Regions from separate parts of the Homo sapiens genome. Here region 2 is linked to region 1. The links are contacts of gene promoters, found by promoter capture Hi-C in blood cells and fetal thymus (Javierre and others, 2016). All regions are on one chromosome and are shown on one strand. Each heading gives the region's core, a stretch centred on a gene start or on the middle of the fragment in contact. The rest is flanking DNA. Distances are from core to core; before and after follow the strand shown.

The links. The method cuts DNA at HindIII sites, captures the fragments that hold promoters and counts their contacts. A CHiCAGO score of 5 or more calls a contact.
Region 2: a contact is called between a fragment that was not itself captured here and the fragment with the promoter of STAP1 in region 1, in 1 of 17 cell types (total B cells). The highest score is 5.3, in total B cells.

What each region holds. Positions count from the first base shown.
Region 1 is chr4:67,555,190-67,562,278 of GRCh38, forward strand. STAP1 (signal transducing adaptor family member 1) reads left to right here and starts at 3,538. Exons shown (of 9, transcript NM_012108.4): 1 at 3,538-3,740. The coding sequence starts at 3,621. The HindIII fragment of the contact is 12,125 bases long and covers 359-7,089 here.
Region 2 is chr4:73,085,967-73,093,055 of GRCh38, forward strand. It overlaps ANKRD17 (ankyrin repeat domain 17), which reads right to left. Exons shown (of 34, transcript NM_032217.5): 29 at 4,701-6,334. Among named protein-coding and RNA genes, the nearest start is that of COX18, 20 kb to the left of the region's middle. The HindIII fragment of the contact is 491 bases long and covers 2,524-3,014 here.

The DNA of each region.
Region 1 (7,089 bases), core at 2,288-4,787:
CTCCAATAGTTTAATAGTAACATGATTGTTCTACAAGGCAACACAAGAATCATATGTCAACCAATGGTCACATATATCAGAAAAAAGGAAACTCCTGTCACAATGGAAGCTAATAATTCTCCAAACTAGAATCATATTTTTTAGCTAGAAGCTATTCAGTAAATATATGATATTGCAATCTACTTATAACCAACCCCTACTTCAACACAATCTTTCCTTTGGAAAAACTGTTTCTTGTTGATACTCAATGTATACAAATAACTACAACAGGACAAATACTATAAGAAAGAAATCGTGCAAAGTGCTTTGGGAAAGCAGAAATGAGAGTAATAACTTTTTTTTTTGTGGGGGTGAAGAAAGCTTCAGGAAATTAGGAGATGTTCAGAATTAAGGATAGATTCAGCCTGGGTCTTGAAGGACGAGTAGGACATTACCATATAAACAAAGAGAAGGAGGGGCATCTAAGCAGAGTACAGTGACTGAAAAGGTATGAGGAGACAGGGAAGATCATAGGGTATTCAGGCAACTGAGACTAAATGAAATTACCAGAGCAAAGGGTATTTTGAGGAGTTATTATTTAAAAGGGGCCCTGCTATAAAGGACCAACGTGCCATGCTTGAGCCCATTGTTGGTATTCAATAAGTATTTAGTGTTCAATAAAAAATATTTAAAAAGGAATCTCAAAAGCAATGAGAATCCTTTAAAGTCTTTTCAGTAGGGGAATATCTTGATTAGGTTGAATATTAAATGAATCAAAGAAGAAAAAGAGTGGAAACTAGGAGACTACTTAAAAGCCTTTTGCAGCTCTTCAAACAATAAGTCATGTAGTCCATCGCCTCCTTGTATAGGTGAGGAAGCTATGATACCAGAGAAGTCAAGTGGTTTGTTCAAGGTCTCAAGAGCTGGTTAGTAGCAAAATTAGTTTATGCCCTATGTCCAAACATATTTTCTACTATATTTCCTTACCTACAAATTTATTCTTCACTGCCTAAGACTTGAGGTATCTGTAAGAGGATTTCCATTGTAATGGTGCAGTGGTGCAATGACACTAGTCATTGCAGACAGGACTAACTTGTTAATATTGTTTAAGCAAGATTTTTGCATTTTGTAGTCTTTTTCAGGGAGATATAATTTGATTCTTGGTATATTAAGAATGAATTTGACGAACAAATCAGCAGACCAAAGTAACTTACTGTGTCTGATTAGCTGTTTTTAAATTGTTGCTTATATTTTAAAGGCAAAAAAAAAACTAAGTGCTTATTTAACAACAACAAAAAATCCCCTTTACATTTTTTTAGAGGTATTATTTTCTCTCACCTATGAAACTTTCTGACCATAAAGTCAGTGCGTAATCACTGATGATTCCCAGCATTCTTTCTTTATCCTTGCTTCTTTTCATTTTTCAATTCTTAATCCCTCCTTTCACTTCCCCCCTGTATTACAACAACTAACAGCTGCCAAGAAAGTGGATTAGGTCATATATTCAATCAGGAGGTTTTCCTGTTATTCAAGTCACTTTCTTAGTATACCGAAACTAAAAAATAGTTATGGTTTTTGCCTCAAAAAATTCAGTTGGACTTATATTTTATTATTTGAAGGTTGGGTAGCAAGAAGCAGGTCTAAACTTACAAAAGCAAAGCAGTCATTTTGGATCTTCAACTCCCTATTTCTGTCTTGAGCTGTTTTCATTTTGATAATACATCTGAACACTCTTCTCTAACTTACTGATAATCAGTCCGTATTGTTCTACCTCACTTTGTAGACAATTTGTCATCCCATATCTACAGCTGCAGGATCAGTGGGACCCATACTGGTGGAGAAAACCATGCAGTCTCTCCATTAGGAAAGGAGAATCAGACTGAAGACTCCTGACTTGCTTTGATTTCTAATAATAGGCTGGTCTCACTGGGCCCAGGCTGTTCTAAATCTAGAGTAGTTCTGAAATACTGAGTGTGAAATAGGCAATGGTAGAAATTCTTAGGACCCCTGTAAGACAAATCAAAATTCCTTCTAGTATTCTTTTCTCCCATCATTTCCTGCACTGTGCTACGCCAAATCCAATCTCTTAAGGACCATTTCCTACATGCAACCATTGAGTGCACTTTGGCCCCAGTATAGCTTTATAAATCTCACTAGATAACTGTGGGAAGTCCATCCATGAATCATAGTATCAATGGTCTGCAGCTCAGAAAGCACAAAAGAACAAAATAAAAGTTTGAAAACTTACAGCTTTCTCTGCCAGATATTTTTTTGCCAAATATCTTAGACTCCTTTGTGTTGCTGTAACAGAATGCCACAGACTGGTAATTTATAATGAACAGAAATGTATTTCGCTCATGGTTCTGGAGTCTGGAAGTCAAAGAACATGGCCAGCATCTGATGAGGACCTTCATGCAGCATCATTCCATGGCAGAAGATAGAAGAGCAAGAGAGGATGATAGCATGTGAGAAAGTGCCAAACTTGATTTTATAAAAAACCCACTTCCAGGCCAGGTGCAATGGCTCACACATGTAATCCCAGCACTTTGGGAGGCCACAGCAGGAGAATCGCTTGAGCCCAAGAGTTTGAGACCAACCTGGGCAACATAGGGAGATACTGTCTATACAAAAAATGAAAAAGTTAGCTAGGAGTGGTGGCGCGTGCCTTGTAGTCCCAGCTACTTAGGAGGCTGATGTGTGAGGATTGTTTGAGCCTGAGAGGTCAAGGCTGCAGTGAGCTGTGATTGCACCAGTGTATTCCAGCCTGGGCAACAGAGCAAGACCCTGCCTCTGAAAAAAGAGAAAGAAACCCACTCCCACAGCATTAATTAATTCATTCATTCATGAGGGCAGAGGCCTCATGACTTAATCACCTTCTAAAAGTCCCATTTCTAAACACTGTTGCATTGGGGATTAAGTTTCTAACACATAAGTTTTGGAGGACACATTCAAAACATAGCACTAAATATTCATTGGGAACTCATGTACTTGGAATATCTACTGGCAAAAAAAAAAAAAAAAGAAAGAAAGAAAAAAGAAAAAAATTCCATATTCCGTGTTCCCATAATTGTGGTTTATATTTAGTGAAGCATCAAATGAGCATGAGATACAACTATTTTTTTTATTTACACAAAACTTGACCCTAAAATATTTAACCAACAGAAGTAGTACTAATAAAATTATTCTATGAAGTAATTTTTAATGAAGCTGAGTTTATTCAAGTCATGTCTTCTGCAAATAAAAATGGACACCAATAAACAAAAACAAAGATAGAAAGAATAACTGTGTTCTTGATATCTCCCCTAAAGTTCACAATCTCTACACCTGTTTCTTTCATCTTCTGGTGATGTTAATCTTCTGTTTATTTTGCGCTTTAAATCTAAGCACATGTGGATTACCCAGAGATTGCCCTCTGAAAGTCAGTCTACACCTGTTCTTTCTTACCTCACAAAAAGTAATGGAAAAAAAAGTGTGTGTGTGTGTGTGTGCGTCTGTGTGTGTGTGTGTCCTGTTGGTGGTAGTGTTGGTGGTTAAAAAGCAATTTGGGACTTCCTCTTTGAACAGTTGCCTTTTCCTCTCACAGAAGGAAGATTTCATTTTGTTTGAGACGAGAAACCAAACCACACACCAAAGAGAGGGGTATGATGGCTAAGAAGCCCCCAAAACCAGCCCCTCGCAGGATCTTCCAGGAAAGGTTAAAGATTACTGCTCTACCTTTGTACTTTGAAGGTTTTTTATTAATCAAGCGGTCAGGATACCGGGTGAGTCTATAGATGATAATGTTAAACCTAAGACTTCTGTTTTAATTTAATATTTATTTCATGGTGATGTGATGTGTTAAGACCTCCTTGTTTCTGTTGAAATTAAATCATCTTCTCTTCTTTGAGCTCAGAAAAATGATTCCAATTTTTCATAATTTAAATACAATGTCTGGCTTAAACCTGTATGTATACACATATATAATATGTATAATAACAGAGGTTGTAATATTAAGGCACTAATATAAAAAAGTCAATAAGCTAAATTTCCAAAGAATTTATTTAAATATCACAAAAGATTTTGGCTTGGGAGATAAAATGTTTCTTGTATTTTCTCCACAATTTATTGCTATGCTTCAATGATGACATGTACCATTAAGATAAAATGATATCATGATTAAAATTAAACCTGCTCCTGTTCTGAGTCATTTGAAGTTTATAATGATCAAATTATTAAAAATGGCTTTTGTAAAAATTGTTAAAATGACAAAGTTCATACTGTTTAACATTATATATAGTTATGTGTTCTAAAATACTATTCAAGATAGTGACTTTTAATTTTTGGGGTACTACTGTGGGTATTAAGTACACTAAGCTACATAAATACCTTTGCTCTAAGAAAATCCATGAAGCATTCTGTATTTTTAAATGTAATAATTAAAACTTATAGTTAGTTAAAATCATTACTTTTAAAACAGTAATTATGGATGACTTGAAATTAATTAGAGAAATAAGCCCAAAATTGCCTGTTATTAAATAAAAAAATCATTAAGTTAGGTCAAATTTTATGAAATTGTATACTGACTAAAACTAGAAAAATTTTAAGGTTTTCAGAAATTCCATCAGAAATGTTTAATGATGCTAAAATATATTTTCTGAGGATTTATGAATACTTGTGGAAAAATTATATATATGAAAAATCTATAATAGCATATTCACATTTCTTACATATATAATCAGATCATTTACTATTTGAGAGTAAAGACATGGTAATTTGTATTCTGTTATGGATGTTAAACATGCATAAATAATTACCTTTCAGTTATATTAGAATTTTTTAGATTGATCCTATATGCTTTTAATGTAAATTCAATCTTGTCACCACAGGTAAGCCACATAGTCACACTTTGCCAGGAAAGGGAAGTTGAGAAAAAAAAATTCTAATTAGTAATTTAAATCAGGTTGTTCATTGAATGTTTTCCAAGGTATTTATAATAACTGTTTATGATAGCAGTTTTTTTTAAATGCTTAAAGAAGACATGTCATTGGTATGGTTAGCAGAAAGAATAAGAATTTTAGAGTGTCCTTTATCTGATGGTTTTGCCACTTATAGCTTGTGATCTTGTGCAAGTTACTCAATCTCCTTGAGACTGTTTCAACTATAAGATAGAGAGTATACTACTTGCTACTTGCCTCCTAAGGTACATTCTAGGATTCAGTAGGTGTTCAATCAATTTATTCACTCAACATTTATTGTGTGCCTCCTATGCACCAAGCATCACTCATTTCTGGAGAATATGGAAAAAAACACAAAGATTTTATTTTCAAGAGGCTTAATATAGTAGGAATGATGTCTTCCTTACCAAATTTCTACTCTTTACCTTCTCTTAGAAAGCATTCTTTGAAGCAGAATGAATACCTATAGGCATAAATATTTCCAATGAAATTAACTTGTGTTTCTATTTGAATTTATAGTAAAGTATCTTTGTGTGTGTGGGTGTGTGTCTGTGTGTGTGTGTGTGTGTGTGACAGTGTCTCCTCTGTTGCCCAAGCTGGAGTGCAATGGTGCAATCACTAGTCATGCAGCCTTGACATCCCCGGCTCCGGTGATTCTCCTGCCTCAGCCTCCTGAGTAGCTGGGACTACAAGCGCATACCACACCCGGCTAACGTTTGTATTGTTTATAGAGACAGGGTTTCATCACGTTGTTCAGGTTGGTCTCAAACTCCTGGGCTCAAGCAACCTGCCCACCTTGGCCTCCCAATGTGCTAGAATTACAGGCATGGGCCTCTGAGTTAGACCACTAAGTACCTTTTACTTGTATGTCAGGGAGAAGAGAGCAAGAGGATGACAATAATACCTACTTATGTGGTGGTTTCAGGGATTAAAGGGATAGCATATGTAAAACACCTGGCTCACACTAAAGGTTAGATTCATTCTCTTACCCTTTCATCACTTATCATACTCTTATTCAGGTACTAAAATTAGTTTGAGGTCTGCAAGTAATATGACTCCAAGGAGAGTGAGCATGGTGATAATTAGAGTACTTGAAAATAGAAGCTATGAGAAAAATCTAAGCAAAATAAGTGGAATTTCCAAGCAATTGGCAGCAAAGTGCCAGGGAATCTTTGAACAGAAGGTGAGCCAAAGGTATATAGCCAAGTAATCTTTGGAGCTGATTGGCTAGAGGAAGGTGAGAGGCTCTGCAGAATGTAAAGTTGGGTCTCTGCCAAAGTCATTCAGAACATTTAAACTAGAAAAAATATAACTGAAGAGTAACCTGGTCTATAAAGGCATGAAATGCTGAGAGGTGCTTCTTAGCTATTTTTTGTGGGGCACTTTTAAGTATTTAAAGAGCTTTTCCCCAGGAAAATGTAACAACGTATACCATTTTGCATGCAATTCTAGAAGGTTTCTAAATCTGAGGTCAAGAACCCATGAAAAACACATAATCTTTATGGAAAAGATAATGTGGGAAGATTTATTTAAGCCACAGCACTAGGATTCTGAATTAACCAGGAAGATGTGTTTATTATCAAAGCTGTTAAATGCCACAGTGGAATACCATTGGCATCGCAGTTCTTACAAATGGGAAAATTTCTCATTTTTTCTGGGACCGTTTGAAAATAAGAGAGAGTGTGGGTGGGCCGGGAGCGGTGGCTCATGCATGTAATCCCAGCACTCTGGGAGGCCCAGGTGGGCGGATCACGAGGTCAGGAAATGGAGACCAACCTGTTCAACATGGCGAAACCCCGTCTCTACTAAAAATACAAAAATTAGCAGGGCATGGTGGCACGCACCTGTGGTCCCAGCTACTCGGGAGGCTGAGGCAGGAGAATCACTTGAACCTGGGAGTCAGAGGTTGCAGTGATCCGAGATCGCGCCACTGCACTCCAGCCTGGCAATAGAGCGAGACTCTGTCAAAAAAAAAAAAAAAAAAAAAAAGAAAGAAAGAGAGAAAGAAAGAAAAGAAAAAGAAAGAAAATAAGAGATAGTTTGGGCAACGTCTCATAATTTCTTCAATCTGTGATGTGCTAAAGTAAAAAAAAAAAACAGTGTGTGTGGGCCGGGCCCGGTCCCAGCTATTCGGAAGGCTGAGGCAGGAGAATCGCTTGAATCTGGGAGGCGGAGG
Region 2 (7,089 bases), core at 1,519-4,018, 5.5 Mb after region 1:
AGTGACAGAGTGAGACCCTGTCTCACACACACAAAAAACTAAACTATGTAGATAATTATAAAAGAAACAATTATCACATTATACTCTTAAATTCAAATTATAATTTACTGGGAACAAATTTAATTCTTGATTTTAGTACTTTCAGCACTAGTGGGCATTAATGTTTTAGTTAAAAAGGATCATTAGTTTTCCTTTACATGGGCTTTCTGTCAAAGTGGACTTTTGTTGCCTTTATTGATCATAAAATTAATGCAAACTTATTTAAAAAATCCAAAACCAAAAACCATATATAAAACAGAAAGTGAAACTTCCAGATGTTCCTATTTCAAAAACGAATGTATGTGTATTTGTGAGAGAGAAAAAGAAGAGGAAGAATAAACGTTTACCTTTAGGGATTTTTAGATAACATTTTTTTTTAAATGTTTATTTTTAGGGATAAAGATAAAACATTTACTCTTCCTCTTCTTTTTCTCTCTTACAGGTACACATTTGTTTTTGAAATATGTTCATTAAAAAAGTATTACAAATGTTTACACACTAAACTATTACACAAGTAACCTATCTGATTTTAGTCTAACGGGTTAAAAATACAGAAAAAAAAGAAAGAAAATAATTGTCAACGATTTTTTTTTTTAATTTAGGAGACAGCTTTCTCTGTTGCTCAGGGTGGAATGCAGTGGCATGTGATCATAGCTCACGGTAGCCACAAACTCTTGGGCTCAAGCAACCCTCTTGCCTCAGCCTCCTGAGTATCTGGGGCTACAGGTGTTCACCATTACACCTAGCTATATTTTTGTTTTACCTTTTATTAGCTTTTATAGAACACATGTCAATATTGGATTTTATGCTTGAACCTGGGAGGCGGAGGTTGCAGTGAGCCTAGATTGTGCCACTGCACTCCAGCCTGGGCGTCCGAGTGAGACTCCATCTCAAAAAAAAAAAAAAAAAAAAAAATATATATATATATATATATATATATATATATATCTGTAGGATTTTAAATAGGTTTAAGGACCAAAGAGTTGTATAAAACTACAGGGCAAAAAAGGGCTGTAGATACAATTCTACAATGAAGAGATCTGATAATTACATACTAACCACACGGCCATGCTTTCCACAGCCAATACTGGAACAATTTATCATTTTTTCTTTTTTTTTAAGGAGACAGGAGATTGCTCTGTTGCTCATAGCTCACCCCAGCCTCCATCTACTGGGCTCAAGTGATCCTCCTGCCTCAGCCTCCCAAGTAGGTGGGATTACAGGTACATGCCACCACACCCAGCTTTTTTATTTATTTTTGTAGAGGCAAGGTCTCACAATGTTGCCCAGGCAGGTCTTAAATTTCTGGCCTCAAATGAGCCTCTTGTCTCAGTCTCCCAAAGTGTTGGGATTACAAGTGTGAGCCACCACATCCAGCCAATCTGTCATTGATAAAATGCAGTGTGAGGTTCAAAACATCACCTATATGATGCTCCTTCCTGAAATATTTGATCTGAATCTAATCATGGATTGACATAATCACTGAATTAAACTTGCCCACAGAGTCAATGTCAAGAATTACAGAGGAAGGCAGTAGAATACTTTAGACAGAGGGAGACCAAAGACACATAACAACCAAAAGTAATGTGTGAATCTTGATTGAGTCTTGGATCAAATGGCAAGGAAAAGAGACACACATAGTCAGAAAGAATATATTTGGGAAAATGGCATTTTATGTTGGGTGTTATTATCAAATTCATCCTCATTTTATTGGGTGCAGTAATAGTGGCATAGCTGTGAAGGCAAACATTGTGAAGATCCATATCAAAGTATTTAGGGGTAAAGTATCATGTTTGAAAGTTATCTTCTCATGATTTGACAAAAGATGGGGAAGAAAAGAAAATAGAGATAGGATAGAAAGGGGGAAAAGGAGGAAAGAAGGATGAAGAAGGGGAGAGACAGGTAAGACAAGACAAGAGAGGGGGAAGAAAAGGAAGCAGCAAAAGAGAGGAAAAAAAAGGAGGGAAGAAGGAAAAGGGGAGAGAGGAAGGGAGGGGAGTGAGGGAGAGAGTTTGAAAAGATGTTAACAAGCAGAGAATATATTAATAAATGTGGAAATACCAAGTATTTACTATGCTGCTTATTCTGTCCTTAGATCTTTATGTGACTTAAATAACTTTTCAAAATACAAACTATAAAAACAGATCTGAGTCTAAAATACAAATAATCAAATTATTTACATAAGAAAAGTTAAACAAAGGAAGAAAAATATGGAACACAAAATGAATTAGGAAGAAGTAGAGAGAAGTGAAAATTAGGATCTGAGAGAGGTTTAGGAGAAAATAAAAGGACATACTTCCTATGTAATAAAAGGAGTATCTTTAACTCAAAATGACCTGAATTAGGTAATTGACTTGTAAGTTAAACTTCAATGCTAATTTTGGCTCTCATCAACTATACACTCCCTAAAAACCTCACCTTTCTTACAGAGGTCTTTCTTCTATACCTTTTCAAAAAATAGGAATTTATTTTTTTGTTCTCTAAAGCTTAATTTTAGCCTTTCTGAATCCCACACCTAGATTATCACATTTTTGGAAAGGTAAAGTATTAAATTCCAACTACTATAAAAATCAAACTTAAAGCATTTCCTACGCACTGGCACATAATGATCTAAAATCTAATTATATTGATTCTATTGTTTTAATATAAAATAAATTATTTTTCATAGTACACATAAATATTTCAGTTGACTTTTAGCAAAGAATATTTACTGACCACCTTCATTAAATTTTATTTACATGTTACAGAAATAGGTAAAAATAACATTGAGTTCCCATTAAACTTGGAAATTTTTGTCCCGGAATGTCATATTTCCAATAACACAGATAACGAGTTGGCAACCAAGAGCCAAATACCAAATATTTTAGGCTTTGCAGGTCACATGGTCTCTGTCCCAGCTACTCAATTCTGTCATTGTAGCATAAAAGTAGCCTTATACAATATGCAAATGAATGGGCATTGCTGTGTTTCAGTAAAGCTTTCTCTACAAACACTGAAATTAAAATTTCATATTTTGTGTTGCATGTTTATTCTTTTTAAATTTTTTTTTTTTTTTTTGAGACAGGGTCTCCACCCAGGCTGGAATGCAGAGGTGTGATCTCAGCTCACTGTAACATCTGCCTCTAGGGCTCAAGTCATCCTTCCACCTCAGCCCCCCAAGTAGCTGGGACTACAGGTATGCACCACCATGCCCAGCTAATTTTTATATTTTTGTAGAGATGGGGTCTCCCCTTAAGCCCAGGCTGGTCTGGAACTCCTGGGCTTAAGCAATCGACCCACCTCAGCCTCCCAAAGTGCTGGGATTACGGGCACAAGCCACCGTGCCAAGCCTATTCTTAAAAAAAAAAATTTTTTTTTAAACATTTAAGAAATGTAAAAACAGGCAGCAGGCCAAATTTGGCCCATAGACCATAGTGTGTCCATCTCTTACGTGGACTATCTTTAATTACTTGAAATGCTTATATTAAAACCCAACAGCTTTAAATGGAAACTGGCATCCTGGATTAGATCCTACAATAGAAAAAGGATATTACTTGAAAAACTTGTGAAATCTGCCTAAAATCTGTAGTCTAGTTAGTAGTACTACACCAATATTAATTTTTTTAGTTTCGAAATGTATCATGGTTATGTAAGATGGTCACATGAAGGGAAGCTGAGGAATTATAGAATTCTTCTATAAATCTAAAAATATTTTAAAGTAAAAAGTTTTTTTTAAAAAAGCAATAGCTTACAATCAGGAGATCTTTGTATCTTCTACATATATCAGTGTTGCCCAGTAGAATTTTGGATAATAGAAATGTTCTAGATCTTTGCTGTCCAATATGGTAGCTACCAGCCACAAGTGTTTTTTAAGCACTTAAATATGGGTAGCCTAAGAAGCTAATTTTTTTATTTTTAAAATTTTCATTAATTTAAATTTAAAAAGTACACATGGTTATTGGCTACCATATCAGACTGTGTAGCTCTATTTTTAAAATTATTTTAGAAATAAAAAAGATAATGCGAAATGAAACCCAATTTTTTAAATCTGTTATTTTGTATTTGTAATAAATGTAAACTTTTGGTGACAGTACCTTATTAAATTAAAACATGAAAGACTTCTGAGAGAGAAAAACACGCCTAGGCCAGGAACTGTGGCTCACGCCTGTAATCCTAGCACTTTGGGAGGCCAAGGTGGGTGAATCACCTGAGGTTGAGAGTTCGAGACCAGCTTGGTCAACATGGTGAAACCCCATCTCTACTAAAAATACAAAAATCAGCCAGGCATGGTGGTGCACGTCTGTAATCCCAGCTACTCGGGAGGCTGAGGCAGGAGAATCACTTGAATCTGGGAGGCAGAGGTTGCGGTGAGCTGAGATCATGCCACTGCACTCCAGCCTGGGTGACAGAGCGAGACTCTGTCTCAAAAAGCAAACAAACAAAAAAACCCCGCCTGATCAGAAGACTTATTTATGGAAAATTAAATAAAAATCTATGGTAGCTTTTAAAAAGATTTTTAAAAATAACACCATACTAAACACAAACAACAGCATCTGAGTTAACTAAATCCAACAATCTTTGTCTATATCGTCCAGAGAATAAAAATATTAGAAAATGACCAAGAATTTTCACATCACTTGTGCAAATGAACAGCTGCAGAATCTCAGAAAATATAAACTCACCTGAGGGACTTGGAGCAGGTCTCTGTAATGGTGGTCTAAAACCTGGAGCTTTGGAAGTATCAGACTGATGTAAAGGATCTGAATTTGGCAAATATGAGGATTTTCCTGATAGCATAGATTCTGGTGTTGACTGAGATGAAACAACAGATCCTCCCCAGAAGGCATGAGCAGAAGTAGGGCTGTTTTCAAACAATGTGCTAAAGGGCCCAAATGGTAAGGGGGCACTGAAATTGGGAGCAATAGGCTTATTTGCTGGATGTACTGAATTCTGACAAGCACTTTGTGTACTTAAGGTCGAAGGTAGCTGGACAGAAGAGGGAACACTGTGAGGTCTTTTAATGTGATTGACACTGAGGACTGCAACAGATGAATTTTGCACTGAAGCTGAATTCTTGTGAGGGGCAGTTGTGCCATGAGGGGGTGGTCTAATAGCAGGGGTTTCCATTTTAGGAGTAGGCTGGGGGCATCCCATTGGTGTCTGAGGCATAGGGTAAGTCACTGGGGCAGTAGAAGGCACCGCCACTGGAGCAGAACTTGTTGCTAAAGGAGGAACAGTCATTCTAACTTCCGGGGGAGGAACCTGAGACTGCTGAAGAGGTGGTCTTGGTTCCTGAGAAACAGATCCCGGAGGTTGTTGCTGATTAGAATGAGCTGATGAACTCCCAGAAGAACTGCTGCTGTTTGGAGGTCTAGTGTTTGTTGTTTCTACTACTGGTGGACTACCTGCTTCCTGTTCGGAGGAAGATGCCACTTTATTTGGAGATGCTGATCCACAATCCAAAGGGCTGTTTCTAGAAACCCCTCCTGGCTGGGCTGGTGGTGATGGGGAAGATGGGGATGATACTGGATAGTGTTCTTTGGCAGTAGGCATAGGATATGTGGCATTTGTGGGTGCAGTGTTGTTGTTGCTTGCCGTGGTTGTGACTGTTGTTGTGGTGGCATTGGATGTCTTCACAACTGTGACAAAAAGCTGCCTTCGGACAGAAGGTGAACTTGGACTGCCATTTGTAGATGTACCAGGCACCGTTGAAGCTGATGAACTGGTTGTAGTTGTTGGGCTTGAAGTTAAAGAACCTGCTGAATTCACCTGAGAACCACTGCTATTCTGATTGCTATGGCGAGGCACCATGTGAGGCTTAGGCGAGTTAGTAGCTCTGGCAGGGCTCAAAGGCCTGACAGGAAACGGACCCCAAGTGGATTGAGCTGGTGGAAAAGTACCTCCAAAGTGGGTCATGGGCAACCTTGGTGGACGGATCTGCTGGAAAGTCTGAGCAGCAAGCAAAGCATGTGCAAACTGTGGAGGAGGATATGCTAATGGAAGAGAAACTGGAAAACCAGGCCTCACATTATTCACTGGGTTCTTAATGGTTTTGTGAGTGGATGCAGAAGAAATTGCAGGCACAGTGAGTGCTGTGGCAGTTTGAGATGTTGATGACAGAGCTACAGTTGTCATTTTAATTCCCATTAAGGAAGTGTTAGCAGCAGTGGTGGTAGGTGCTGATGACCCTATTTTGGAATTTGCTGAGGAGCTTTTCAAACGATTCTTTGGAATAAGTTCATCAATTTCTTTGTCTGGATCCTTGATCAAAGCATTAATCAATTGAGTTGCTTGTCTTGTTGATTCAGTGCCACCCCTATAAATTGAGAAAAAAAAATTAGGTAGAATTTTCCCTACTTTTGAGTATGTAAAGTGTTTTTAATATGTATTTATGTACACAAACACACACACAGTTTTGTGTGTATATACATACACACATACAAACAAAGGACAGATAACAAAAGCTGGGCAGCAATTTTCTTACCATTCCTGAGGTATTCTACAAACAAAGCAATAAACTGTCCTGAATTACTACTTTTATTTTTCAGAAGAATAGTAAATGACTTATTTTTCAAAAATACATTTCACTATTGTTTCCTTAGACTAAGAAACCATTTTCCTACTGTAAAATACACTACAGTTAGAAAAACCACTGCACATAAAAGCCTATGTAATCCACAATGTTATTGAAACATTTAATCCTAAAAATATTGAAACAGTTAATCAACACTAAAAATAATAGAAGTAAACAAGGAAAATAATACAACTGAGTAAGAAAACAGTATTTTATTTTAAATCTTGGTATCTGGGATGACTCCGTCTACTAAAAATTCATTAGTAGTTTGTCTATTAATAGGATAATTATTGTAACTCCTCTGGGAAGATGTCTTAAAATGATGCAGGAATCCTGATAGTGCCAAAAATAGCCATATAAAACCTTAGTGCTGGATCTTCAGGAAAATATTTGATATTTATGGAAACTCAAGGGAGCAATTACCAATAAAGGGTATCTGGTTCCCTCTTTTCTAGATAAGATAGGCTGTGACTACCCAAATACCCAGGGGAAAACCA